5 separate regions of the Homo sapiens genome follow, and regions 1, 2, 4 and 5 are each linked to region 3. The links are contacts of gene promoters, found by promoter capture Hi-C in blood cells and fetal thymus (Javierre and others, 2016). All regions are on one chromosome and are shown on one strand. Each heading gives the region's core, a stretch centred on a gene start or on the middle of the fragment in contact. The rest is flanking DNA. Distances are from core to core; before and after follow the strand shown. Region 1 overlaps RNF6 (ring finger protein 6). Region 2 holds the start of HSPH1 (heat shock protein family H (Hsp110) member 1). Region 3 holds the start of POMP (proteasome maturation protein). Region 4 overlaps CDK8 (cyclin dependent kinase 8). Region 5 holds the start of B3GLCT (beta 3-glucosyltransferase).

Region 1 (2,936 bases), core at 345-2,844, 2.4 Mb before region 3:
ACATACTATACAAGGTCTAAGAATTTCATTTCTGCAAGTGCTCCAATCAAGCCTGTTCCTTATGGAAAGGACTCCATAGTACCTCTGTAATTCGTTCCATCTCTCAAGTCAGGCTGAGATGCTAGTTGTTCCTTGACGCCATCTAACCGCTGTTGCAGTTCTTCTGATGTTATTTCTCCTAAAACAATGAAAAACTGCTCATTTAAGAATTCTGAATTAAGTTTTATGAGACCTCATGAAGGGTAAGACTAATCTTTAGTAACCTATAGAAGACAAATGTCTTATTACTTTCATATGTTCTGTAAATTGAAGACAGTTAAAAATATTCAACTGGTACAAATGTGCATCAATTCGGTTGTGCTTCATTTATTAATCTTTTATTAAAAATTATTAAAATAAGATTTAATTTGAATAGTTGGTAAAGTGCTGCCAGTTGATACACTTAGGAATCTATAAGCTATAACTGTGGATTTTTGTCAGTTAAAAAGAAATTAAGGGAGCATTTATAGAGAAAACTTCAAATATTTACTTGAATTTTATCCCAAATACTTCATTATATGGGTCATCAATATACAAACACACAATATATAAACATACAAATTTCCATTAGTTCATTTGTAAAAACTTTATGGAACACATTGGGCTTTGGGGGGAGCTATTAATTCAGCTGAATAAATAAATTATAATACCCCAAATGAGTTCAAATTGGGTTTTAAGTCATATTTTATTTGTATAAAAATTACAAATAGGACCATATATGTAAATACTTAACACCATTATGTACATTAACCTGTTTCTTAGTTTGGCATTTGTATAATAGTGCTCCATGTCCCCTATTTTCACCTTATAAAATACAGAAGCCAGTGATTTTCTACTTTATTATACTAAAAAGTTCTTAAACTCACAAAAACAATATACTATATTTTCATAAAGAGAAGCAAGGAAAAAGAATACCAATTCTCCTTATCTTGAAATCCTTCCATCTAAATGATGAAAAAAGGGTGTTTCCTCTTTTACCCATCTCTTACCAGGGGTGCCTAAAAGATTATGGTCTCTCATAAGCCGATAATCTTCATCATTGAGTTCATTAATAAACTGATAATAGGCCTCTTCTCTGTGGAGACGCTCTTGCTGCCATCTTCTCTCATTTTCATGATGATTATGGTCTTGAGGTAAGGTTTCTTCACTGCCACCATCTGATCTCGATCTAGACTGATTCATCCTGAGATTCCTGGCTTTCTGTTCAAACAATATAAACAACATTCAAGGTGTTAAGTCATGGACCACATTTGGCTTTGTATTTTTAACTTGCAGTTTTTCTTAATTTTTAAATGTTGTCCCCTACCCAAATACTGTATTTGCCAAATCTTGCAGTGAGAAGCTTACATATAAAATGAAAAACAGCTTCTAGGAAATACAACACAATTGGCACTTACTTCTTTGCCTAAAGCCATTAAGTCAGACTGGATTTGGGTTTACCACACAATGCTCATGCCTGAATACCATAGTGATTATCTCATTTTTGACCATGTTGACGATCTGGAAAAGTTGATCCAGAAGTCCTCATTTATGTTTCAGGATCTGGGTACTTCACATTAATTACAAATTTTAGGCTTGAATTATGCACATTCTTCACTTAATGAGCAAAGGGATACTGGGATGATATAATTTACATTTGTTTTCAGCAAGGTATTCTTTCCAAAATAAGGCTCATGAATGTAATATTATCCCCCACTGCACTTTGATGAGGTGAAAATCATTTAGCCTAATTAATATCTACTGAACAAACTGGAAGGTGGTCTCTTATTAAAGCTTACCAGGAAGACTTTGAAACCCAACAGGAAACAAGACATCATGTATGGCTCAAGGATTGTGAAAGTGCATCAGAGCACTTTGTATCACCCCATATCAAGCCTCATCCTTAAGCCTGGAATGGTTAGTCCCAGGAGTTTCAGAATGCCAGTGAAACTTCCTGACTTTGCCTAAGAAACCACTATTTTTGGATTATATTTAAGTGTCACTCCTGAGAAGCTCACTTTTAAATTACATGGAAATCAAGAGAGAAAGATGTTTGTTTCACAAATATTTTAGAATTTCTTAAATACATCTATTCAGTAAGTCACACTAAAGCAATGGTTCTCAAACTCACTTAAGGGTATTTTTAAAAATCTAGATGCCCAAATCTCATCCCCAATCCTTGATTAGAGTTTTCCAGGGTAGGACCAGGTCTGCTGTTAAGAGCTAATTTGGGTGTTCTGCAGATGAAATAAACTATTCCTCGACAATTTCTGGCATGTCACTAAAGGGTATGAGTAATACAGCACCTGACTCAGTAGAGGCTGGAGGCTCAAATGGCTAGGCTACCAGTGAAGCAACTGTGCAACTCTGCCTCTCGAAATACACTAGGTATTTAATAAGCAAGCTGCTTTAAATATAAGGTGAAATTAGCCTACAAGTCTAAAATACTGTTGGAGTAAGCAACTATTCAATTTCACCTGTAACACTAAATTACAAATTCAAGGATTTTTTTCACTGTGGTTATTTTATTATGTCATTTTGAACAAATGACCTAGTAACATTATCCACTCAAATATGAATTAACACTACTAAAAACTCAAGATCTCTATCTTCAGATTAAGACCATAATTAGCAAAGAGCATATTTCGTAGGTACAGCAATAATAGGATTTTTGTAATAAATAATTTTACAAGTTGAAGCCTATCATAAAATCAAGTTACCCTAATATTATTTAAAACTTGAGCTTCTCCTTAAAGGTAATTTTCTTATACAGTTAATCACAATGAAAACAAAGCGAATACCTTATTTTCCTTTCAACACGCTTTTAACATATGCCATGGTATCCATCCTTCAATTGTTTGTGCCTTTTTTGAGAGCTGCCCATCTGAAGCAATAAAAGAGAGTTGAATAATTCAATA
Region 2 (3,054 bases), core at 355-2,854, 2.5 Mb after region 3:
CATTAGGGGATAGGGAACAAGCATAGCACAATTTTAAGGTCTATAGCTTTCATCAGATACTCAAAGGGGGCTTCCACTTAATTGCTGCTCTGAGATCCAACCTAGGTGGCAGTTCTACTACCCCAAAAACCTCTGCTCGTGGCTCAGGAATTCTCCAGGTTCCAGTTATTATGAACCGAACATTAACTTTGAAAATGTTTTAAATATGTTAACGGTATTATTAATTTGACCCTACACACGACTAACAAAAAATAGGATGTGACTCTACCTTTCAGTCACCAACTCTGTACAAATCTAAATGTCATTGTCATACCGACTTTTGTTCTGATATACCACCGGCTTCTTTAGGAATCAAAAGTTTTTATGCAAACGCAAGCAAATGAACCCAAGTTACACCTCTGAAGTTTAAAGAGCACAAAGAGGTTCCCATCTGGGAGATTCTGCCGGAGAAAGAAAAAAATGATGCACAACAAGTACCATGGCAAAACAGAATATAAATGTCGAGGGAAAGGAGTGACTAATCAGTTACATCAAATCTGTTTTGAAGAGATGGAAAGTGACTTACAACTGTGAAACAACCTTCTCAGCCACCATGGAAATGGAACCGCACAATAACAGAGCAGAGACTAGCTTAAAAAGTCTTGTGAGAAGAAGGTAAGTGAATTAGGTTTTGGATTAGAGGAGTTATCTAATTCTGGATTACTAATTCAAATATAATCTAATTTTGGGTGAGTTACTCCTACCTGCTTAGGTATGAGTAATGGTAAACGAGATGAGCAAAACGGGAAAATACTGAGGGCATTAAGTACCACCCTTAAGTTTAAATTTGCTATAATAGAAACATCCTCAAACTATATTATCTGAGCAAGTGTTAAATAAAATAGCATCCTAAAAGCCAGAGAAGTGTCCAAGCAGAAGCTAGACAAGAAACCGTCAAAATCAGAGCATCACTGTAAGCTCTGAATAACCATACACTTGCAGAATGGATCTACTCATTTTCCTAGGGGAGAATCAAATTAATTGTACTAAATAACAATTAGTAGCTGATACAATAGAATCCACCACAATTATAGTTTAACAAACATATTAAGGGGAACTCCAATACTGCCCTCAGTTCACATTTTTCAGGGCCATACCTGTTGTCTTTGATTTCACACAGTAGTCCCTGTATAACACAATTTTTTTTCCCACTCTCTTCTCTGAAAAGCTTTTCTTTGTTTTATTGGATCAACCAGAACAAAGTATAAACTGTATCTAGGCATGAAAGCCTGAAATACTGTTTTCTTTCTTACTAAACTCCAATTAAAAAAACCTTAACCAAAACACAAACTTAGATCTGCAGGGGTAGACGTACAGGTTGCTCAGAACAGTCTTCCTAACGTTACTAACATTGCCAAATATTTTGCCTCAGATTTTCCACTCAACTTTCATAAACGTTCTCAGCACCCAAATAATTGTATTACCCCAGTCATTCATTCTACCTTTAGGTTCAATGTTTTCATTTTGCACTTTTCATCCTGAGCTTGGGACATTTGAAAAAAATTAATAGGTACAGTATTTTCCTTGAGATGAAATCATTTGTTTTCATCAATGCACATGCAGATATGTTTGTATATATTCTCGTCCGAAAATATCCCTTCACGAAACTTGCTTTTTAAAATGTTGCCCTTTGCCCACCCTATGCTCCTATAGAATATTTAGTTCAGTGACGACATCCATCCTCTTTTGGCGTCCTAGCACAAAAGTATGCAATTTTTATTCTCTTTTAAATAAACTGTGCAAAATTAATTTTAAAAATACGGTTTACAATTCCTCATGAATGGCAAAGAGCAAAAAAAAAGACGTTTACATCTTTCGACAATGATCCCGGGCATTAAGGCCAACAATGTTAGCAACGAAGAGACTGGGTAAAAAGAGGTGGGCTAATCTTTCATAGGACTGCTTCCGTGGTCGCTAACAACAATCCGCCTGCTCACTGGACAAGCAGCGACACAAGCTCTGGAAGCTTCCAGTTCATTTCGAGATTCACAATGCGGAAGAAAAAGGCCGGCAGCCCCGCTCCGCGGTGCGCAAAGATATGCGCGAAGGGAGGAGGACAAGCTGGAGGCGGCTCAGCCAGCTCAGAGAGGCCGGGTGGGGATACGGGGGCGGCCGCGGAAGGCGCAGGCTGCAGCCTGCCAAGAAAAGGGAGCGAAGTTGCGGGCTTTGCCGCAGCCCGACCCCCAGTAGGTTTTGAAAACCCCCAATAGGAAGCCCGCACAAGGTGACGACCCTTAGAGTCTCGACTCTGGGACTCCTCTCACCCCCGTGAATCCCTGAGACAATCCCTTCTCCAATTTGTGATGGCAAGCCCCCCATCCCTCCTCTGGCCGGGTCGCTGGTCCCTAGTTCCACGGAGGGGTGCGCCGCTGCCCAAACGCCTCCGTTTGCCGCGGTGATCCGTACAGCCAGCCCGCGATCTTGGGTCCCCACACTAAGGGCCCAGAACCTCCTCCCATCCACCCTCGCAGACTCCCACTTACGGGGTGCACCGGTCGCTGAACTCATTGGCGATGGTCTCGATGCCCCCGGCCCGGGCTACCGCGATGTAGCAGCTCTGCGAGCCCACGTCCAACCCCACCACCGACATGGCCGGCTCGCGGTCCGCCTCCGCCTCGGGTCTCGGTCTGCGTCCTCCGGCCCCCTGCCTGCTTCTCCTGCCGCCGCTTTCTGCCCTGGCCGCGTTCTGCTCCGGCCCGCGGGGTCTGGCCGTTCCTCTGACACTCAGAAGGACACACAGACAGCCGCGGCCTGTCAGGAGCCTCCTACTCCCCCGGGGACAGCGGCGGCTGGCTGATAAGAAACCCTGGGAGAAAGCGGGGCTCAGCCTCCGCAGGTCGCTCCGCACCTCGGGTTGCCTGCCTCACTCTGCCGCGGCTCGCACACCGGCGCCGGCGCTGAACTACCGACCCAAAAGGGGAGGTCCCACTTCCTCAGCCTTATGTATCGCACTGATCAGAACTTTCCAGAATCTGCGGCATTTACTCACCGGCGCCTCCACCGGCCCCTCCACGT
Region 3 (2,700 bases), core at 106-2,605:
TCTGGAACTTCAAAGTTGTATGACCATGGCAGTGGATATACATAACATATATGGCCTTATCATTTTCCTCTCTCAAATCCTTCGATGGCTTTTTAAAGACAAAGCCTCATCCTTAATCTTGCCTACAAAGGCTGCATAAAAAACCTGTAGCTAGGTCCCATGATGCACGCCTGTAGTTCCCATTACTCAGCCGGCTGCAGCAGGAGAATCGCTTGAGCCCAGGAGTTCAACGCAGACCTGGGCAACATAGCTAAACCCTATCATTATTTAGAACAAACAAACAAAAACAACAACAAAAACCACTTGCCTCCATCTACTTACAACCTCATCTCACAGTACTCTCCACTTTACTTTCTGAACTTTAGCCAGACTTAGGCCTTCTTTCCAGTTCCGTTTTTGCACAAGCAGATCTGCACGTAATGTTGTTTTAAATATCCTACTACCCCAAACTAGTTCGCTCTTATCTTTTAGCTGTCAGTCCAAAGATTCCCTAAGATGTCTCCATCCTGTGGCAGCAGACTATAAGGCCGTTTTATTACATTATATTTGAACAATACAGAATAGTGTAATGAGCATGGATTCTAGACTCATAAATATGTCCTTAGGCATATTTATTTAAGCCCTTCATGTCTCGGTTTCTTCACCTGTAAATTGTACTTGTAAGGTTATTGAAAAGATTAAAAGAGATAAAGGATGTAAGCACTTAGAACTGTGTTGATAACGCAATTCAAAGGGCCCAACATATGTCGGTCATGATCACATTTACTTAATTTGTAGTCACTATCGTCCCCTCTCTCCCCTCTAGCCTCCGGAGTACCCCTGCTCCTCTAGCCCAGAGGCCACACCGGCCTGGTCCTTTTTTGTATTCCTAGCCTCAGCACAGGGTTCGGAACATACCAGGCCTTCAATATTATGTTTTTTAAAAATGACAAAAGCCTTGTGTCCCAATTTTGCTTTATTAGCCGAACGATCTCAAGCAAATCACTCAAACCACCTACGCCTCGTTTACCCTTCTGTGAAATGTAATAGCTACCTCAGAGAGGTTTTGTGTTAAATAAGGCGATGTACCTACAAAAGCACACTGCACATCTTAAAATGCCGTACAAACCGTAGATGTTTATTAATAAACCGGAGTCCGTGTCTTCCCTCCCCTCAGGCACGTCTCGTCCCGACCCCTCCCTCCTCCCAGCCCACACCCTTACTGCGCCCTTGGCCCTGGGTCCCTTGGGATTGCAAGCGTGGGAGCCTCGGCCCCGCGCAGCTCCCTCCGGCGTCCCGCGCCCTCCTTCCTTCCTCGCCAGGACGGACGCACTTCCGGCGGATGTGGGGGCCAGCCCTCGGAAACGGAAGTGAGCGGCGGGGTCGACTGACGGTAACGGGGCAGAGAGGCTGTTCGCAGAGCTGCGGAAGATGGTGAGTGGGTACCCGGGCGGCTGGAGTTCCACGCGGGCTCGGGACCGTGGCTCGGCAGAAACAGGCAGTCGCCTCCCAACCCGTCCCCGGTGGCGGCGGCGGCGGCAGCGTGGGGCTGAGGCCGGCCTCAGGCGCCATAATCTGTCGAGTCACGGGGTTTGGGTGGGTCGTGACTGTCGCCGGGGCCCGGCACTAGTCCCACTAGCAGTGCTTCGGCTTCATCCTGCTCCTCTTAGCTCGGTTTGCGCCCTTCCATCCCTTAGACCCCAGCAGGCCCAGACCTCCTCCCCTTACTTGGCGCAGAAGTGGAAAAGGCAGCCGTGAAAGTGCAACGTTCTGTGGGGTGGCGCTGGCGACCCTTTCCTTGACGGGTAACCTCTGGGAGCCCAGAGCTCTCAGACTCCTCATCTCCCCCAGCCCCCGCCCTTGTAACTGCCTAGTAAACAGCCCACAACTATAGGTCGCATTTGTGTAACGCAGCTTTGCTCTACAAACTTTTTTGAGAGCTTGTAGTGTGCTAGATGTTAGAGGGGAAAAAATCAGACAGTTGCTATTCCCTGTTTGCCAGTATTGTTAGTATATCTCCTCCCTCCTTCTCCTCCCCACCACTTTCTCTTTCTTTTTAACTTAGAAGTTGTGGTATTTGAGAAGAACACTGAGTCACCATTGCCACAGACTCTGATATCGGTACTGCTGGTAGGCCATCCATCCAAATCTAGAAAGTTTCTATTGGTAAATACTGCTAATCGTTATCTAAAAAGTTTTTTAGGCACTCTCAAATGTAACTAGTAGTTAGGTTTTCGTAGATTTGCCTTTCTCGGCTCCTTCCTTTATTAGAAACAGCAAGTACTAATCTTGATATTTTACAGAAGGAAATTGGGAAAAATGACAATAACAGAATCCAGAAGTCAGAATTCACCTTTTCTTTGTGCGTTGAAACCTTGTTACTTTACAATAAAGCAGTCCAGAAGGAGGAGAATGTTCATATAGGGAAGTAATAGAAGATACATTTGGAAAGCAACAATCACACATCTCTGCTGAAGGTCCCCAACTTCTGGTGGTTCAACAATCTTCTGACTTTATGATGGTGTGAAATCCATACACAGTCAGTAGAGGCCATATTTGAGTACCAATACAGCCATTCTGTTTTTCACTTTCAGTACAGTATTCAATAAATTACATGAGATACCCAGTACTTTTTAATAAAGTAGGCTTTGTATTAGATGATTTTGGCCGACTGTAGGCTAGTGTAAGTGTTCTGAGCACATTTAAGGTAGGCTAGGCTAA
Region 4 (2,700 bases), core at 146-2,645, 2.4 Mb before region 3:
ATGGACTATGACTTTAAAGTGAAGCTGAGCAGCGAGCGGGAGCGGGTCGAGGACCTGTTTGAATACGAGGGCTGCAAAGTTGGCCGAGGCACTTATGGTCACGTCTACAAAGCCAAGAGGAAAGATGGGTGAGTGTGTGTGTCTGGGCCGGTGTCCGCGCTGGGCGGCGCTCCCGCAGGCCGAGGCAGGTAGCCCGGAGGGAGAGCGGGCCGCCGGGGTGCCGGGCTCTGACTTCCTCGACGCCGGCCTCTGGCTCCGCCAGCCAGGTTTGGGGAGGAAGTGGTGTACGAGGGATCCAAACCCACGAGAAATCCTGCGTGCCGCGTCTGTGTTCTGCTCTGGTGGTAAGAGGCAAGATGAGCCTCTGCACCGTGGGCTGTATACTTTTCAAGGATTTCAAAGCTGATTCATGAAAAAATTCGTTCTAAAACGCCGGGTTAAATGTTTTTTGTTTTTTTTTTTCCTTGGTCGATTTATTATGGTAACCTTCTGGGGATTTCCTCACCCGCCTCTGGAGTGTCATCCATCGGTCTAGAAGGAAGGCTGTGATCCTTTCCCCCACCAGTTTGTGATCGATTTTTTATCAAATTTGTATTTTATTTGAGGAAAGGAAGGCAGCGAGTGAATGTGGTTCTGGAGAGAGTTCCCCATAGTGATCATCTGCAACATAAATGTTGCAATTGCTATTTAGATATTATTAGCTGTGAATTTTTACATAGAACAATGGGGGTTTGGTGCAGGGTGGGTGGTGGGGAAGAAGGCAAGTGACATAGGGACTATCTCGTTCAGGCGGTTTCCCCCAAATTTAGCGGCTGGCAGTGAACTTTAAATAATCCCTTTGCTTTAAATATTCTTCCCTAGTAACAACTTAATTAAACCTATGACTGGTAATGCTTCCAATTTAGTTTCTTAACAGGCAAGTGAATTGTTCATTTTTTCTCTTTGTCAGTAGATGAATGTCTTGTAATATTGACAAAAGAGAAGGCAATTCTTAGTTGGGGGGAAAATATATTTTATTAACTCCATGTTTTCTTGTAAAATGGATGTTGTCTCTGTTGCCTTTGACAGAATAGAAAATTATTGAAAAGTCAAAGCTTATTATATAATCCTTGGATTTTATTAGAAACGAAGTAGCTTTACTTGAGCATCCCAGTTTAGTCACCTGCTGTATGATGTTTAATCACTTAAAATTTCCAATTAGGTAGGAGAGTATGTTCAGACTACATTAGCACGAAAAAAAAATTCATAAAGCTGAAGTTCCCTACTGTGGGGTAGGGGGGCGCATATTTACAAATACTTTAGTATTCTGGATGTTGGAAAGGAAAGTGTATATTTATTGGACATTTTTCTTAGATTTACTGAAATGTCTTTCTAAAAGTATTTACAATGGACTCTACGAGGAAGATAGGAGTTCTAATTAATTTAGAATGTGTATTTTAGTGCTTTTATGCAACAGTAAAGTGGAACAGATCGGCAGAAGGTAGGGATTTGGATTTGAAAACTTGATATTCTGGGCGCCGCACGTATTTAAAAGTACTTTTTAGCGGAATGGATAGTCTGGTGACACTGGAGAAATCAGCGTCTGGAGATATTGCTGACTCTGTTGTTGTCTAATTAGACTTATTGTTGAAGTTTTACTCTGTAATGACATATATTTTTAAAATTATGTTTGTTAACTCACCATACAATATTTCTCAAAAGCTTTAAACCATCTCCCCTTCCCCCAGTATTATGTAATTTTGGGCATATTCATAAAATCCCCAATCCCATGAGATTAGACATTACAGTACATTTGACCAAACTGACATGTTATATAAAATTCTAGCGCCTTTGCATTATTTTTAATCTGTGTGAGAGAAGCCGGTTCTGTTTTCATAAATTACCAATTTAAGCTAATAAAATATGCATATTTGTTTTAACGTTGTACATTTTATTAGAAAACTAATACTGTGTATTGGCAGGGGGTACTTAAGCACATTTTATATCTCTATGGTCAGGTTTTAATTTAGGCCGTTAAGAATAATTTGAAAGAATAATTTCAATATCTTTGAATTTAAAGATAGTTGAAGGTATAATGTATGGACATTCTTAGTCATCTGTGACAGCTGAAAAGTAACATTGCATTTTGGAAAAAAGAACTTATTATTTGTAATCCTTGGAGTTTGTTTTCCATCAGTCTTTAATGATTCTCTTTATGTGATGAACTTCTATTTTTAATGGATCAAATGTCAAGAGAGTTTTAAAATTACTATCTTTTAGAGATAGTTTTAGAGAGTTTTAAAATTACAGGGATTTTTTTCGGTTTGACTTCTCTTTGTAACCTCACTCTGGTAAAGTATCGCATAGTATTTATGAGGTTCTTTTGATCTTATGTCAGTGAAATGTAATTTAATGCATTTTAGTCCTGGTAAAATAAAATTTGTGGCTGTTTAATCTTTCATAATAAGATGATGATCAAATAATTTGTTTCTAGTATTGATTTACTTTCAAATTACATTATATATTCTGCAGCTGAGATTTGTTCTCTAGGAACTCAGACAGTAACACCTTTAAGGAGAACCTGAGATTTTCTATAAAAGGAAGTAACGCAAATAAGCTTGGTTTAGACATATTTGACTATTGAAATGAATGTATGTAAACGTTGTATCCTTTCAGTTGCCCAGTGAGCATAGAACATGAATAATTGGTAAAATAATTTAG
Region 5 (2,887 bases), core at 295-2,794, 2.5 Mb after region 3:
GGTAAGCTTGAGAATTTCCCAAGGATAAAAGCAATGAATTCAGTCAACCATAGATTTGAAATGCTTCACTAAGAAATGAAATGGAAGGATCCCTACATTTCTTTTTCCTCCCATCAAAATGGTATTGACAAGAGACCATAAACCTTGGGCGAATGGAACAAAAGGGAACTATTTGCACTCACACTAAATGGATCACACGTGAAATATTTAGTTCCCAGTTTTAAGAAGTCAATATAAACCACACAGAGAGAAAATTCTTTGTCTCCAGGCCTCCTTTTCAAAACAATCCCAGCAGGTATTGCACAATTGCAGACAATACTGTCCTAATGCATTAGAGCCTAAGTCCCCTAAACGCATTCAAGTTAAGAGGGCTCAAGCCTACAAATGTTTATTCAGCACCTGCTTCTCTGTCTCCAGGACATCCTACTTGTATTCCCAGGGCCATCCTACTTGTACTCCCAGGGCCTCCTCCTCCTTAAATGTTTAGCAAGTAGGTGAATGTTGTATGTCCATGTGAAAGATACTGGCATTCCTAGGGTGCTTAGCAGAGTTGCAGTCACATAGTAGGTATCCAACAAATGAGTAAATATGAAGGAAAACATAGAAACTGCCTTCAAGAGGTCATGGGCTAAACTAGGGCTGGGAAAAGCACTTGGTCCTGTGCACTTCCTTGGAAACAGAAGTGAGCCAAGGCTTGAGGGAGGCACGAAGGAGTTCAGAACCACTGAAGGGAGCCTCTAGTTCTTACTTGTAATGCTTTCCCCTTCAGTGCACCACACAACACAACAGGACCAGTCCCCTATCAGGGCCACCACTCTACCGGGCTGGGGAGGAAAGCCCTTCGCAGTCCTGCGGGAACAGGAGGCACTCCCACATTGCTCCACTTCTCTGTATTCCAGTTTAATTAATTTTTATATTTTGAATAAAATTACACCCACTCTCTTCCATTATGGTGAACACTTAAAATTACATTTATAGAAAATTACATTTACACAAACTTGTTTAAAAGCCAAATCCCAGACCTAGGCTATTGGCCAAATTCCATTTAAAGGGGATATTAAGTAAATTAGTTGAGCTGATTAAAAACACCTTCATCAAAGTAGAGCATTGGTGCCAACAATATTAAGAGTTGAACTATTGATTACATTTTTTTTTCCACAGCAGATAATACATTAGCAGGGAGGAAAAGTGATTACTGCTCGCTTCCACTTCACAGGTAGAACTACTGATGGGGGTGACGCGGTAAGGTGGGAGGGCATGAAGGCAGGGGACGCGGCCTAGGTCAGGAGGGACGCAGAGGAGAAAGGAAGAGGAGGGGTGGAGGCTGGTGGCTGGAGGGGGCAGAGGTCAGACGCCTCGAAGGAGGGCGCCGTGAGGGCAGAGCCGCGGCCACCTCTACCGCAGCAGCCCGTCGGGCCGGACACCAGCCGCAGCCGCCAGCCCGGCAGACGCTGGAAGCGCGCACAGGGGTGCTCCCGCTCCCGGCCGCCAGAGGGCGCGGCCGGCGATGGCGCGGCGGAGACGGAGGGAGGAGGGGAGCCGGCAGAGAAGGGTCAGCCGCGGCGGCAGGGCGGCGGCGGCAGCGGCGCAGCTCCGCTCCCCGCGCGTCTCCCTTCCCCGCGCCCAGGTAGGGCGCTCAGCCTCCGCCGCCAGGATGCGGCCGCCCGCCTGCTGGTGGCTGCTCGCGCCGCCGGCGCTGCTCGCGCTCCTCACCTGCTCCCTGGGTAAGTAGCGGGCGGCCAGGCGCGCAAGGGCGAGGCGTGGGGTTCGCGGGCACAGTCGCCCGTGCCCCGGTCGGCGCGGGGAGGGAGGCGCAGGGCGGCCCAGCCCTGCCCCGCCGGCGCGCGCGTCCCGCCGTCCGGTCCCCGCCGCGCCGCGCCGTCAGCAGCGCCCTCTCGCGGCGCCCAGGTGGGACCCGGGCCCGGGACCCGAGGCGTGCCCGCTCGGCCCCTTTCGGTCTTGGGTCCCCGCTGCCGCCCCGGCCCCAGACTCGCGTCTCCCAGCCTCTGCCGCCCCGAACCGGCGGGCGACGGGGCGGCGAGGGCGCAGCAGCCGCCCCCACAGGAAGCGCGCAGGAACTGTGCCACCGAAGAAACTTTGCAACAGCGCGAGTGGCGGCGGCGGCGGTCCCGCCCCCCTGCCTTCCGCCCGCGCTCCGCCGTCCTGCGCGCCCCGCGCCGGGCGGGAGGCTGGACGGGAGCCGGCGAGGCGGCCCTCGAGGCCCCGCGGCTCCTGTTCGACCCCCGGGGGCGAGGACTGCGGTCCCGGTGTCCGCGCGCCCCTCCGCAGGGCCTTCGGGACGTGCCCTGGCCCCTGAGGATAAGCGGCCAGCTCGGCGCCAGCCCTTCCCGGATTCCGACCCGGAGGAGGACAGGGGCGCCCGCTGGGCCTCCGCGGGAGCTGGCGCGGCGGGGAGGCTTGCTCCTGTCTCGGGTCTCCGCTGGGGACATCAGGGGACACGTCTGCGAGCAGAGCAGTGCTTGCCCGGTCTCCTGCTGCTGTAATGCCCATTCTTTTTTATTTCTTTTCTCCTCGCAAGGGCATTTCCCCCCTTTATCTTAAAACGATGTGATAAAAGTTAAAAAAAAAAAAAAAGCAGCCTTGTAATTGACTTTCATGATCAGATTTGTTCAACTTTGAAAGCTTGAGCGAAAAATTATTTTTTTTTCAGACTGCTACAGAGTTTTTGTCCTCTAACCCAGACTTGCTGGTGTGAAAAGGCAATGATTTCAGATTTTTTAGTAATGGCAGAATGGTGCAGTTTAGGAAAAGACGTAGCGTTATTGCGCACTGCTCTTGTTAGCCCACCGGAACCTTGACAGCCTGTTTTTATTTGTATTTAAGCTCTCTGAATAAGGATTAATTTGCTGCATTTGTGTACTTCTGG

The links. Contacts are between HindIII fragments. The CHiCAGO score rates a contact against its expected background, and 5 or more counts as called.
Region 1: a fragment that was not itself captured here is called in contact with the fragment with the promoter of POMP in region 3 in 1 of 17 cell types (naive CD8 T cells); the score reaches 8.7 in naive CD8 T cells.
Region 2: a fragment that was not itself captured here is called in contact with the fragment with the promoter of POMP in region 3 in 3 of 17 cell types (naive CD8 T cells, naive CD4 T cells and total CD8 T cells); the score reaches 11.6 in naive CD8 T cells.
Region 4: a fragment that was not itself captured here is called in contact with the fragment with the promoter of POMP in region 3 in 1 of 17 cell types (total CD8 T cells); the score reaches 5.4 in total CD8 T cells.
Region 5: a contact is called between the fragment with the promoter of B3GLCT here and the fragment with the promoter of POMP in region 3, in 2 of 17 cell types (naive CD8 T cells and total CD8 T cells). The highest score is 7.0, in naive CD8 T cells.

Annotation. Positions count from the first base shown.
Region 1 is chr13:26,218,429-26,221,364 of GRCh38, forward strand. RNF6 (ring finger protein 6) reads right to left here. Exons shown (of 5, transcript NM_005977.4): 2 at 2,820-2,902; 3 at 1,029-1,239; 4 at 83-178. The coding sequence starts at 1,221. Among named protein-coding and RNA genes, the nearest start is that of RNF6, 2.4 kb to the right of the region's middle. RefSeq lists an enhancer at 2,658-2,936. The HindIII fragment of the contact is 431 bases long and covers 1,380-1,810 here.
Region 2 is chr13:31,158,954-31,162,007 of GRCh38, forward strand. It overlaps HSPH1 (heat shock protein family H (Hsp110) member 1), which reads right to left and starts at 2,951. Exons shown (of 18, transcript NM_006644.4): 1 at 2,523-2,951. The coding sequence starts at 2,629. RefSeq lists enhancers at 2,045-2,590, 2,591-3,054, 2,748-2,827, 2,958-3,054. The HindIII fragment of the contact is 798 bases long and covers 1,206-2,003 here.
Region 3 is chr13:28,657,775-28,660,474 of GRCh38, forward strand. POMP (proteasome maturation protein) reads left to right here and starts at 1,356. Exons shown (of 6, transcript NM_015932.6): 1 at 1,356-1,413. The coding sequence starts at 1,411. RefSeq lists an enhancer at 849-1,008 and a silencer at 1,229-1,288. The HindIII fragment of the contact is 5,788 bases long and covers 1-2,700 here.
Region 4 is chr13:26,254,642-26,257,341 of GRCh38, forward strand. It overlaps CDK8 (cyclin dependent kinase 8), which reads left to right. Exons shown (of 13, transcript NM_001260.3): 1 at 1-128. The coding sequence starts at 1. Among named protein-coding and RNA genes, the nearest start is that of CDK8, 1.9 kb to the left of the region's middle. RefSeq lists a silencer at 1-92. The HindIII fragment of the contact is 607 bases long and covers 1,093-1,699 here.
Region 5 is chr13:31,198,431-31,201,317 of GRCh38, forward strand. B3GLCT (beta 3-glucosyltransferase) reads left to right here and starts at 1,545. Exons shown (of 15, transcript NM_194318.4): 1 at 1,545-1,724. The coding sequence starts at 1,655. RefSeq lists silencers at 1,186-1,245, 1,296-2,195, 2,256-2,505. The HindIII fragment of the contact is 2,637 bases long and covers 5-2,641 here.